Linked DNA regions of Homo sapiens: region 1 is linked to region 2. The links are contacts of gene promoters, found by promoter capture Hi-C in blood cells and fetal thymus (Javierre and others, 2016). All regions are on one chromosome and are shown on one strand. The core of a region is centred on a gene start or on the middle of the fragment in contact, and the rest is flanking DNA. Distances in the headings are between cores, read along the strand shown.

Region 1 (5,150 bases), core at 2,219-4,718, 1.0 Mb before region 2:
ACAGAGTGAGACTCCATCTCAAGAAAAATAAAAATAAAAATAAAAAAATCAGACATTCAAGCAAGTGATGTGATCAGCATGTCTCTTGGCTTGGTGATTGTCAAGGATGGAAAAAACTAAGCCCTGTGGTGGGGATTTGGCCAACAGACTAGAGAGGGTAGGGGACTATGAGAGATTTCTAAAGATCACTGCTTTCTATCCAGCTGTGACTATTAAATACTAAACTGATGAGTATCTCTTTAGCTGAGAGCCTGGGCAAAAGGTTGCCAGGATTACCGGATACTAAGATTGAAAATGGCTGCTTGCCTCCGGCTAAATAAGCCCATAAAACAAACCTTTGGAGAATTATTTTAATTTTAAGAGCATTGTGTTTAAAACTCCACAAAAGCAGTTCTGTATGGTTTCCAGGGCAGTCCCCAATGCCTTGTAAATTTCTCAATATAAAAATTTCTCAATAGTATGCCCCATTGTGCCACAACCCAGGGCTGAAGCATGCCTCAGTGCTGAAGTCTGATGAGGTTGGACACTCAAAGTTCTCAACTCAGCTTCTGCTCCTCATCCTTCCTTTGCTATCTTAGGGTTTTGGCAACCATTTTTAAGCAGACAACTTCCCAGTCTACTTCTCCATCCCTGTTTCAAGAACTTGAGTCCCACATTTCTCATTTTAAATTGCCATGTGGATGAATTGCAGGTACCTCAAACTGCTTGTGCCAAAAACTGAACACCTGATTTCTTGACAAACCTTGTTTCTCATACTATCAAATAGACTGGTCTCCTTTTAGACATCTCTCTTGAGATCTTGCATCATCTTTGCGTCTCTGTCTTTCTTAATCCTCCTTTTTAATGAGTTATCAAATCCAGCCAATATCTTTGGAATTCCACCCTCTTTTTCTACTCTCACTTACATTGCCTTTGGTTGGGTCCTCTTTCCCTTTCTCCTGCATCAGCATTCCAACACAATGGTTTCCTTGATGCCATCTTCACTCTACTCTTCTTGTCTACTGCTATCAGAGTAATCTACCCAAAGTTCAATTTTTTTTTTTGACAGAGTCTCACTCTGTTGCCCAGGCTGGAGTGCAGTGGTGTGATCTCGGCTCACTGCAACCTCCGCCTCCCGGGTTCAAGCGATTCTCCTGCCTCAGCCTCCCGAGTAGCTGGGACTACAGGTGCACATGCTGGGCTAATTTTTTGTATTTTTAGTAGAGGCGGGGTTTCACTGTGTTAGCCAGGATGGTCTCAATCTCCTGACCTCGTGATCTGCCCGCCTCCGCCTCCCAAAGTGCTGGGGCTACAGATGTGAGCCACTGTGCCCGGCCTTAAGTTCAATTTTAACTGTATCATTATCACCCTCAAAACCTGTATTAGCTCCTCAGTGCTTACACAATGAAGTCTAGATTTCATCACATGGCATTCATAGTCAGAGCTCAGCCTACCTTTCAGCTCACTGTGCTCTGAGCACTAGCCCAGTGTTTCTAAACCTCTTTCTCACTACTGTCCCCACAATGCACCTTTTTAGAACTTTTTTCACAATCACCTCCCTTGTGCAATGTTAATACTTCAGATATACTGTGTATCTGTGTATCATGTGTAGATTTGTGCTTTCTACATAAAAAGAGGAAGATTTTACCCCTGTGGAGACTACATGCTCTGCCAAAACAGATCACTTAACAATCCATGAACATGCTCCAGTGTTTTCTAGCTTCCAAGCTTTTGTTCAGTCTGGCCATTAAAGAGGTTGAGGGAATATGAGAAGATTCCTAGACTGTACTTCTGCTATTCAGCACGCTGATCCCCTTGCCTAGAATAGACTCACACATCTCCTCCCACCACCCCCTATTTCTTCCTCTTGAAATCTGACTCTTCATGCAGCAACCTAAATACCGTATCCTCTCTCCATCCACTCAGTTGGCACTAACTTTTCTGTGTGCTCATGGAATTTTCTTTATTCCTCTATTATGTTCTTTTTTACATAGTCATCTTTCTATTTGTGTATCTCTCCCACTGGATTACAAACTTTCTAAAGACAAGGACTGTGTTGTTCACAGTGTGTGATGCCTTCATGTAATAGGCACCAGGATACGTTGGTTGAAATCAGTTCACTGATATACTGGAAACAGTGTAAAATCCCACCAGTGACCATATTGAAAAGTCCCATGTGTATGCTGAATAAATGAACACACTAGAAAAACTGGACACCATATACAAGACATACTCCCAAAACAGGATCATTAATACAGACACTATTTATAAAGGAGTTCTGTATTGTGTACACCATGGGTGAACAAAATTGGTTCCTGGTTCACACAAATAACAGACACCCACAGAAAGTTATCTGAATGGCTAGCTGCCTAGGCATGTTTTAAATAATGATGATCAAATGGGGTAGCCCAGAGAACAAAACACAAGTGGCAATTTTTGATATCATGTTCTTGTACAGATACAAAATTTTAATTGGGTTTATGTGCCATGAAAAGAAATGATATATGTAGAAGTACATTTTATATGTTAGTAATCATCACCACCATCTTCAAAATGACCAAATTAAGGCTATGGGGCAGGAAAGTCAATCTGACAGAGTTATTTTTGGGTAGGAAGTGAAGCCAAGATAAAAACATGTTTTCTGTAAAAGCCTTGATAATTAAAAAAAAAGTATATATGTGAATATCTTTATAAGTTTCTATTATTCTTCATTGCATTGTGGAACAATTGACTTTCTAGGAAAGCTATTTCTGTGGCTTCATAGGATTACCATTTGCTTTCACCAGAGGATTAGGTATTTTTAAATGGCATGTGTATTACTTCTCTGAGTTTATTAAGATGATAATAAAATCTTACAGAAAACTTCTAACAGGTGTTTTCTACAGTCCTTTGCTTCTGGGCTGTCTTCTCCTAAAATACCATAAACGGTTTTGTTTGTTTGTTTGTTTGTTTCTAAAGTCTAAGAATGACTTTTGTGGGACAGTGGAGGTGGGGGTGTCTGTGGGATGAGAGGCTTGGCAAATAATTCGTTTCCAAGGATACACTAATTTCCGCCCTTCAGCCAGGTTCATCCACAGTCAGTAGTGTAATTGAGTTTAGTTCTTCCTGGTCTTTCAGATAAGTAACCCTTTTGCCAGTTACAAACCCTACTTGCAATTCTATTTTCTATGGGCTCTTAATTATTGAAAGGGAGGATTAGTCATGAATCTCCTTTTTCACTCCTTTACTAATCAAGCTCAAGTTCTGCGAGCAAACAGCAACAGCAAAAGCAAATACTTTGGCGCCAACACTTAGCCTTGCCTCACTTAAGAGGCAGAATTATGTAGGCTTGTTTGCTTAACAACTCAGATAGGGGGCGGGGAGGGTGACCGGAGGGGACGAGGGAGGGGACGAGGGACGGGACGAGACGAGGGAGGGGACGAGGGAGGGGACAAGGGAGGGCCCGCCCCCTTGGAACGGGATTGGTTCCCTCTCTCCCTTTAGCCGTTCACTTTGCATCTCGGTTGGACAGGTTGAGAGAAACATGTCATTAAGGTATTGTCAATATGAGCCCTTCAGGTGTGGGCGTTCCCTAGGTTTGTGGTTTTAGACTTTCAAAGGGGCGGACTTATTATTGGCTGTGGGATCAAGTTCGTGAAACTGGTCTTGTACAGGTTGAAAAATGCCTTCCTAACAGGAGGCGCCAAGGAGCTTAAGTGTAACTCACACACAGTAAAGAAAATGACGAAAGTTCCTCCGGCGTTTGATTTCAGTTTCTTAAATGACGAAGAGGCCAGGAAGATCCTTCAGGTGCTGGAAAGGAATGAGGAGTTACAGAGGGCCGAGAAGGACAGGATCAGGTACAGAGCAAATTCATTTCTTTTGTCCTGGGCCTGGGTCCCGCAGGGGCCGGGGATCCGCGGGGAAGGCGCTGAGCTCGCGCGGGGCACCTGCCCGGGGGTGCTCCGAGCGGCTGCTGCGGAGGCTGCGGGTCGGGAAGAGAAAACTGCGCGGAGTTGCTCCCTGAAGGACTTTGGGATGCTTAGTTGGTACCCTCTCCACCCACCACATACCAGACGGGCTCGGCTGCGGGTCTGGGGTCGGGCAGGGTGGGGGGGTCCGTGCGCTGCGGGGGCCGCGCAGTGACGCTGTGCTGTGCCGGGTGTCTGCTGGGCCATCGCGGGGCGTGGGCCGTTTCAGGCAATGAAATGCGGCGGGGGCGCGATCTGGAGAGGAATCCTGGCTGCTGCTCACTCCGCGGCCCGCGCGCACCCACGTGCTCGCACGGGTCCGACAGAGCTTCCACCCTCGCCTAACGCAGTTTTCCCTCGGCACCAGAGGCGAATCTCCCCACCCAATGCGGGCAGTCAGCGAAGCACGGGAGAGCCGGCACCTCACGGGAGGCGAAAGGTCCCCACCCCAAGGGTAGGAGCTCGAGGAATTTGTCAAATAGAGGCTTATGTGGGCGAATGGGACTTGGACACACGGGGTTGGCTGGAATGGGTGGGTCTTCTTGTGCGTGGTGCTGTGGGGAGCGAGTTTCTGAGAAATTTCATCCTTGACCTTACTATACACTGTTGTAGGTGAGGGATTAGTTACTAAAGAATGAAATCCAGAGACACAGATAATTACCCAGGATGTACATTAACCAGTTTTTCTGCTGGGGAAGTGTGGGATAAGTGCTGGAATGAATTAAAGGGACTCTCTCGCCAATATTGGAATATATCCATCTAAGTCCTTCTCTAGATAACTGTGGAAGGGAATTCAGGACATCACTCTCAGACCACACTGTGTGCCATTGATTGGAATTTAGCAAGTCATTTTGTTTTATGATCAACTGCTTGCTAATGCGAGTTCCAGGTTCCCAATTCTTTCTAGAATTGCCTGTCCCCCACCGCCGACAAAAGAAACCCTCCAGGGACCCTCTTCAAATTGGAAAATCTAGTTGGTCTTTGTAGAAAGAATTAGAATACACTAAGCCCAATGCCCTGACTTCACCCTTCTCCCCTAAACATGACTCTTTGAGGGATGAAGGAATATTTGAGGTTGGGGAATATGGATTTCATACCATCTGCCTTGAGAAAAAGTGGCTTTATCATTCCCCTCCCCTGAACAGTGTAGAAAGTGTGCCTTCAGGAGAACAGTATGCCACACCCACACACACCCACGTGCATAATGTACCTACACATATG
Region 2 (5,548 bases), core at 1,510-4,009:
GAGACATGGATGGGCAGCAGATAATGGGAAATGAAGGCTTGTAACTCAGGAGAAGAAGATAAATGAATAATCACTTAACAGCTAATCTCTGTTTGGTGTTTTATTAATTATCACGTAAATCTCAACAAAATAAATGCTGTTTTGTAGTTTTGATTTCAGGTCATACTCCAATGCCCCCATATTCTTTAGAAACCACTCTGGTTTCTAAAGGGAAGTGTTAATCAAGTTTAGCCTAAAGCTGCCTCCTTACATATTTAAGTTCAGCCTAAAGGTTTTTCTGTACATCGTGAACAAGTGGAGGAGTAAACCAACCATAGCCCACACCTGTGCCAATCGCTGAGTTTTGGCCAATCAAATGTAGCCAATTGTTTGAACAGTGTTCAAATAAGGCAAACACCAACCTGTAACCAATAACAGCTGTTTCTGCACCTCACTTCTGATTTCTGTACATCATTTCCTTTTTTTTTTTTTGTCTACAAATCCTCCACCACATGGCTGTGCTGGAGTCTCTCCAAATCTGCTGTGATTCTGGGGGCTGCCCGATTTACGAATCAAAAGTTCATTGCTCAATTAAACTCCTTTAAATTTAATTTGGCTAAAGTTTTTCTTTTAATAGAAGCCAGGGCTGAAGATAAAGATTAGGGAATGATTCACAAATCTCTTTATAACTCTGGGGAGGGCAGACAGGAAGAGACTAGAATAACAGAAAAGAGTCAAACTCAAAATCTGAGGGATTGCCTATATTTAATTACGGACAGAGTGAGAGAAACTAGTGGAAAATTCTGAAAGTAAGTGATCAGATCGTATAAAGAGAATTAAAAGAGAGGTGCAGAAAAAAAGTTTTAAAAGCTTCAGCACCTTAAAGCAGGACAAATACTGAGATGAAGTAATTGAATTTGATCAGTAAGAGATAAGAGGATATTTTACACTGTTATCCAGTTTGGTAGACACCGGCCACTTGTGGCTACTTAAGTTTAATTGAAACTAAAATTTAAACATTCAAAATTCATTTCCTTAGTCATACTAGCCACATTTGAAATGCTCATAAGCCACACGTTAACTAGTGTCTATTATGTTGGACAGCTCAAACTATAAAATATTTCCATCATTGCAGAAAGCTCTATGGGGATGTGTTTTTGAAAGCATCCAGTAGTGCAGAAGCAGAATTGCAATGGGGAGATTTCCTGTGTGTCCTCTTATACTCATGTAGCTTGCAATGTCTGGTGGATTTGACCTCTCCAGCTTGCACTTGCCTCCTCATTTTTACTATTAAGTTTTGGTCTCACCCTTTCTTTCCTAGACTATTGCAATGCTTGCCTATCTGCCTCTTCTGTTCTTTCATGTTTGTAACCTATTCTCCACACAAATCATTCCGCCACTCAACAGCACTCTTTTTTCACTGCCACTTTTCCTGGTCAGCCAGCTATTTTATTGTTAGTCCACTGTGGTGCACTGCAGATAGGGGCCATTGTATCAACAACATGGGAAGGTGATTCCTCTTCCCCTACACCTTTCCCTCCCTGCACTCACATAGCTCATAAACCAATGCAGGTAGAAGGATTATGGTACATTTATATAACAAATAACAGAGCAGGAACAACTGCTAATCATCACCCTCTCCTTTGTCTTTTACTTATGATCTGTTACCAGCTCTTTTTTCTTTCCCTCTGCCACTACTGGGCTTGTTAATATTTCGTTACTTTTCACTTCATCAGTCATCTTCTAGTCTCTCCTCCCACTTGCCACAAGAAGCTCTGGTCATATCATTTCATTTCTCTAACCTTCCTCCCTGCAACTCCCACTCTGCAGGCCTACAGAATTCTGTCTTGCTTCCTTCACCATTCTTCCACACATCTTTCTATTACTCTGTGGTACTCACCATTCCCCTGGCACATTCATGCATATTCACTTCCTTCCCTCCCGCCCATGCAATGCCATCTTTCAGACCCCAGGATCCTCTCCCATATCTCTGTGAACCCTGAATATCTGAGACAGGTCTCAGACAATTTAGGAAATTTATTTTGCCAAAGTTAAGGACGCCCGCCCGTGACACAGCCTCAGGAGGTCCTGATGATATGTGTCCAGGGTGGTCGGGGCACAGCTTGGTTTTATACATTTTAGGGAGACATGAGGCATCAATCAATATATGTAAGATGAACATTGGTTCCGTCCAGAAAGGAGGGACAAATTGAAGCAGAGGCGGGCCAACTCAAAGTGAGGAGGGGGCTTCCAGGTCGCACGTATTACAGCTGAGAGACAAATGGTTGCATTCTTTTGAGTTTCTGATGAGCCTTTCCAAAGGAGGCAATCAGATATGCATTTATCTCAGTGAGCAGAGGGATGACTCAGAGGGATGACTTTGAATAGAATGGGAGGCAGGTTTGCCCAAGCAGTTCCTAGCTTGACTTTTCCCTTTAGCTTAGTGATTTTGTGGCACCAAGATTTATTTTCCTTTCTCACCTCTAATAAGATTCAGGAGGAAATATGCACGAAGAATAGAAGGTGCCAGGGGACATTGCTGAAAGACCAAAGGGCCCAAACCTGTTTGACCTTGTCCATTTGGAGAGCAACAGATAAAAATATAGCTGCACTACCAATTATTACTACTCCCCCCAAAAAGACAACTGAATTTTCAGTGTAACAGACAGCACTTTACAAAGACACTTGGTCGAAAAAGGGTCACTCCCGGGCTCTGGGAGGCGAAGAGGACTGTGGGAGCGCTGTTCGTTGTCCCGCGGGCTCATGGGAAATGTAGTGCAGTTTTCTCCAACATGGCCGCGCCCAGGGGAGATGGCGTGCAAGTATCCGCTGCGGTGTTCTGGTGCTAGAGTGGAGAGGCTGGCAAAGAAGAAGGCACACGCATGGTGAGAATCCGGCCTGAGCCGAAGCGGAGGTGTGTGGCACTTCTTACTGGCGGGCATACGGGCAGCAAATCACCGCTTCCTCTTTTCAGCCTCTTCCGGTCTTCTCTATCCGCCTTGCCAGCTAGGGCTGAGAACCTAGGGAAAGGGGATGGATCCCAGAGGCGCCCTTGGTGCAGTGTGGGCAGTAGGGTGTCTGCGTTGGGTGGTTCTCTCAGTGTTTAGGGTGCATGTGTTTGTGTTTGGTTCGGGCGCTCACGTGGTGCCTGTGTCAATCTTCTGTTTTCTTTGGGGTTGGAGAGGACGGTTGCAACATGGGGCGTGTTAGTGTGGCGCTTCTGGGGCTTTTCTGACCGGTGACAATCGGTCTGATTGCATCGATGCAAAGGCAGTGCTGATGATCTGATCCCTTGCGCAGCTGAGTCTTCCTGTGCTCTTATTTGAGCAATCCCTGCGACTCCTGGACCTCTGGTAGCGTCAGCCTGTTATTTTGATAGATTTCATTGAATATTTATTGTCAGTTGTATGTCAGGCACCAAGTCTGTGCCCTTAAATAGATGACAGTTTTCTGGCCGAAGCCCAACACAAACAGGCAATTATAATACCATGTGAGAACTCTAGAGATAGAGGTCCATGCTAGGTGTTAATGAAAACGTTGAAGAAGGCCACCAAACTCAGAATTCTGGAGGAGGGGAGGTTTAGGAGGTAAGACAGCAAAGTCGATTTAGGTTTATTCGACAAATGGTTATTGAGTGGCTGCTAGGTGCTAAATCCTGTTTAAGTGCTGGGTGCTACAGGGTGAACAATAGAGACAAAATCTCTACTTCATGGAGTGAGTGTTCTTTATTCAGTTATGGGGAAAGACAGAATAAACAAATTAATGAGAGTGTAAGAAAATATGTAGTAAGTGTTATTCAAAGAGTTAAAACGGGGTGCCGTGACAAGTGATGGGGTGAATTTTTTTCTAAAAATTTTAAATCTTTATTTTCTTTTTAAATAGATGATGCAGTTTAAATAGCTACTAACTTCAAAAGTCATGAAAGAAGAAAGCTCCCTTTCATTCCTTTACTCATCGATCCATTTTCCTTCCCTGGAGGCAACCCATATCACCAATTTCTTGTGTGTCCTAAAGATTTATATGTAAACTCTGTATACCAGTGCCGTACGTTAAAATTGGGCCTCGTTTGATAGGAAGTTAGATTCTTTCTAATCTTTGCTATTAATTATTAGGTTGTGCAAAAGTAATCATGGTTTTTGCATTTTTTTAAACATATAAGTATAGGAACATTTGTCTATACTGCTTGTTTCATAATAGGCTCTCTATTATTCAAGGAGGGCATGATGTACATACTACTATTACCACGTAGGGCAATATCTAGTAGGATATATTGGCTTTAAACTCACTAACAAGCAAGTAGCAGAGCATGCATAATCTCCAAACTTTCATTATCCCACAGAGAGTACGCTTAGGCTGGAGCTGGCTGAACCGGACTCAGCATGGCTAGTATCATAGTTAATAGTGACTTCACTCCAGTAATGTCACAGGGAGCATCCAAGTATCTGTGCATTAGTGGAAACTCTGGCCAGGGAAGTGGCTTTGTCAGAAGGGGGCACCTCCAGACCTCAGCAGCTGGTATCAGCCTATCCTTGTTGAGATGACTCAGATATGTTGGGCCAGCACATTGCCTAGCCACTGGAATGGTGGAAAACTGAGCCTCAAAGGCCATTTAGTGTCTTTCTTCACGTGCAATAATATTGCATGACTGAGGGAGAGAAAAAGGAAAGGGATGACAAAAATGTGGTTATGAGGCTCCACCTGCTGGTGCTGGACTCTTAGTGGCAGACATTTTAAAAAGATATATTTAGCATCGTTTCTTTCTCATTCCTTCTTTGCAGTGTTTGCTCATGTGAAATATTAAAAATTCTGTAGTGCAGTCATCCCTTGTTCTCCATGACATACTGCAAAGTTGCTGTTCCACAGATGAAGATCTTGAAATGGAATGGCTCTAAAATAGCTCCTTTGAAGGGCCTCAGATATTCTTTGTTTTGTTAAGCCATTTTGATCTGCTGCTTCTGAAAATCAACAGTAATAAATAAATAATAATAAATAAATTTAATTCTAAGAAAGCTATGGGATAGGCACTATTATTTTTATCCCTATTCCTAGATAAAGAAACTGGAACACAGAGCTATATAACCAACTCATCTAGGATTATACAGCTAATAATCAGTGGTTGAGCTGAGATTTGAACCTGGAACATGGACTCCTAAACACTGTATTATATTACCTCATAGCACTGAATGAGGCTCTGTGGTAACTAAGAAAAGTGTGATTTAATCCCGCCTTCAGAAAGCTCACAGTTCAGTGGAAGGGGACAGATACTAAAACAAATAATTATAATTAATGCAATGTTAGACATGTCCATTCACTTATCCCCTTCCTGTCTTAATGACGACTGACTCCTAAACCTTTTTAACCTCAGTTCCTTTCCTAGGAGCCACTTTATTTTGTCACTTGCCAGCCAGACATTGCAACTCTGTATCTCACAATACCTTAAACATTATTCTATCCTAAATATGACTCATTACCTCCTATACTGAGCAGCTCTTCCTGAACCTCCTCCTGACTTTCCAGTTTTGAAGTGGTAGCACTCATCTCTTAGTCACTCAGCCTCTAACTGGTTAAC

The links. The method cuts DNA at HindIII sites, captures the fragments that hold promoters and counts their contacts. A CHiCAGO score of 5 or more calls a contact.
Region 1: a contact is called between the fragment with the promoter of EXPH5 here and the fragment with the promoter of ALKBH8 in region 2, in 2 of 17 cell types (monocytes and non-activated CD4 T cells). The highest score is 6.8, in monocytes.

Annotation. Positions count from the first base shown.
Region 1 is chr11:108,592,086-108,597,235 of GRCh38, reverse strand. EXPH5 (exophilin 5) reads left to right here and starts at 3,468. Exons shown (of 6, transcript NM_015065.3): 1 at 3,468-3,818. The coding sequence starts at 3,700. RefSeq lists silencers at 3,282-3,581, 3,602-3,651, 3,932-3,991. The HindIII fragment of the contact is 3,661 bases long and covers 1,710-5,150 here.
Region 2 is chr11:107,562,946-107,568,493 of GRCh38, reverse strand. ALKBH8 (alkB homolog 8, tRNA methyltransferase) reads left to right here and starts at 2,759. Exons shown (of 12, transcript NM_138775.3): 1 at 2,759-2,893. RefSeq lists enhancers at 459-538, 2,467-2,526, 2,373-2,889, 2,597-3,086, 2,890-3,408. The HindIII fragment of the contact is 7,705 bases long and covers 852-5,548 here.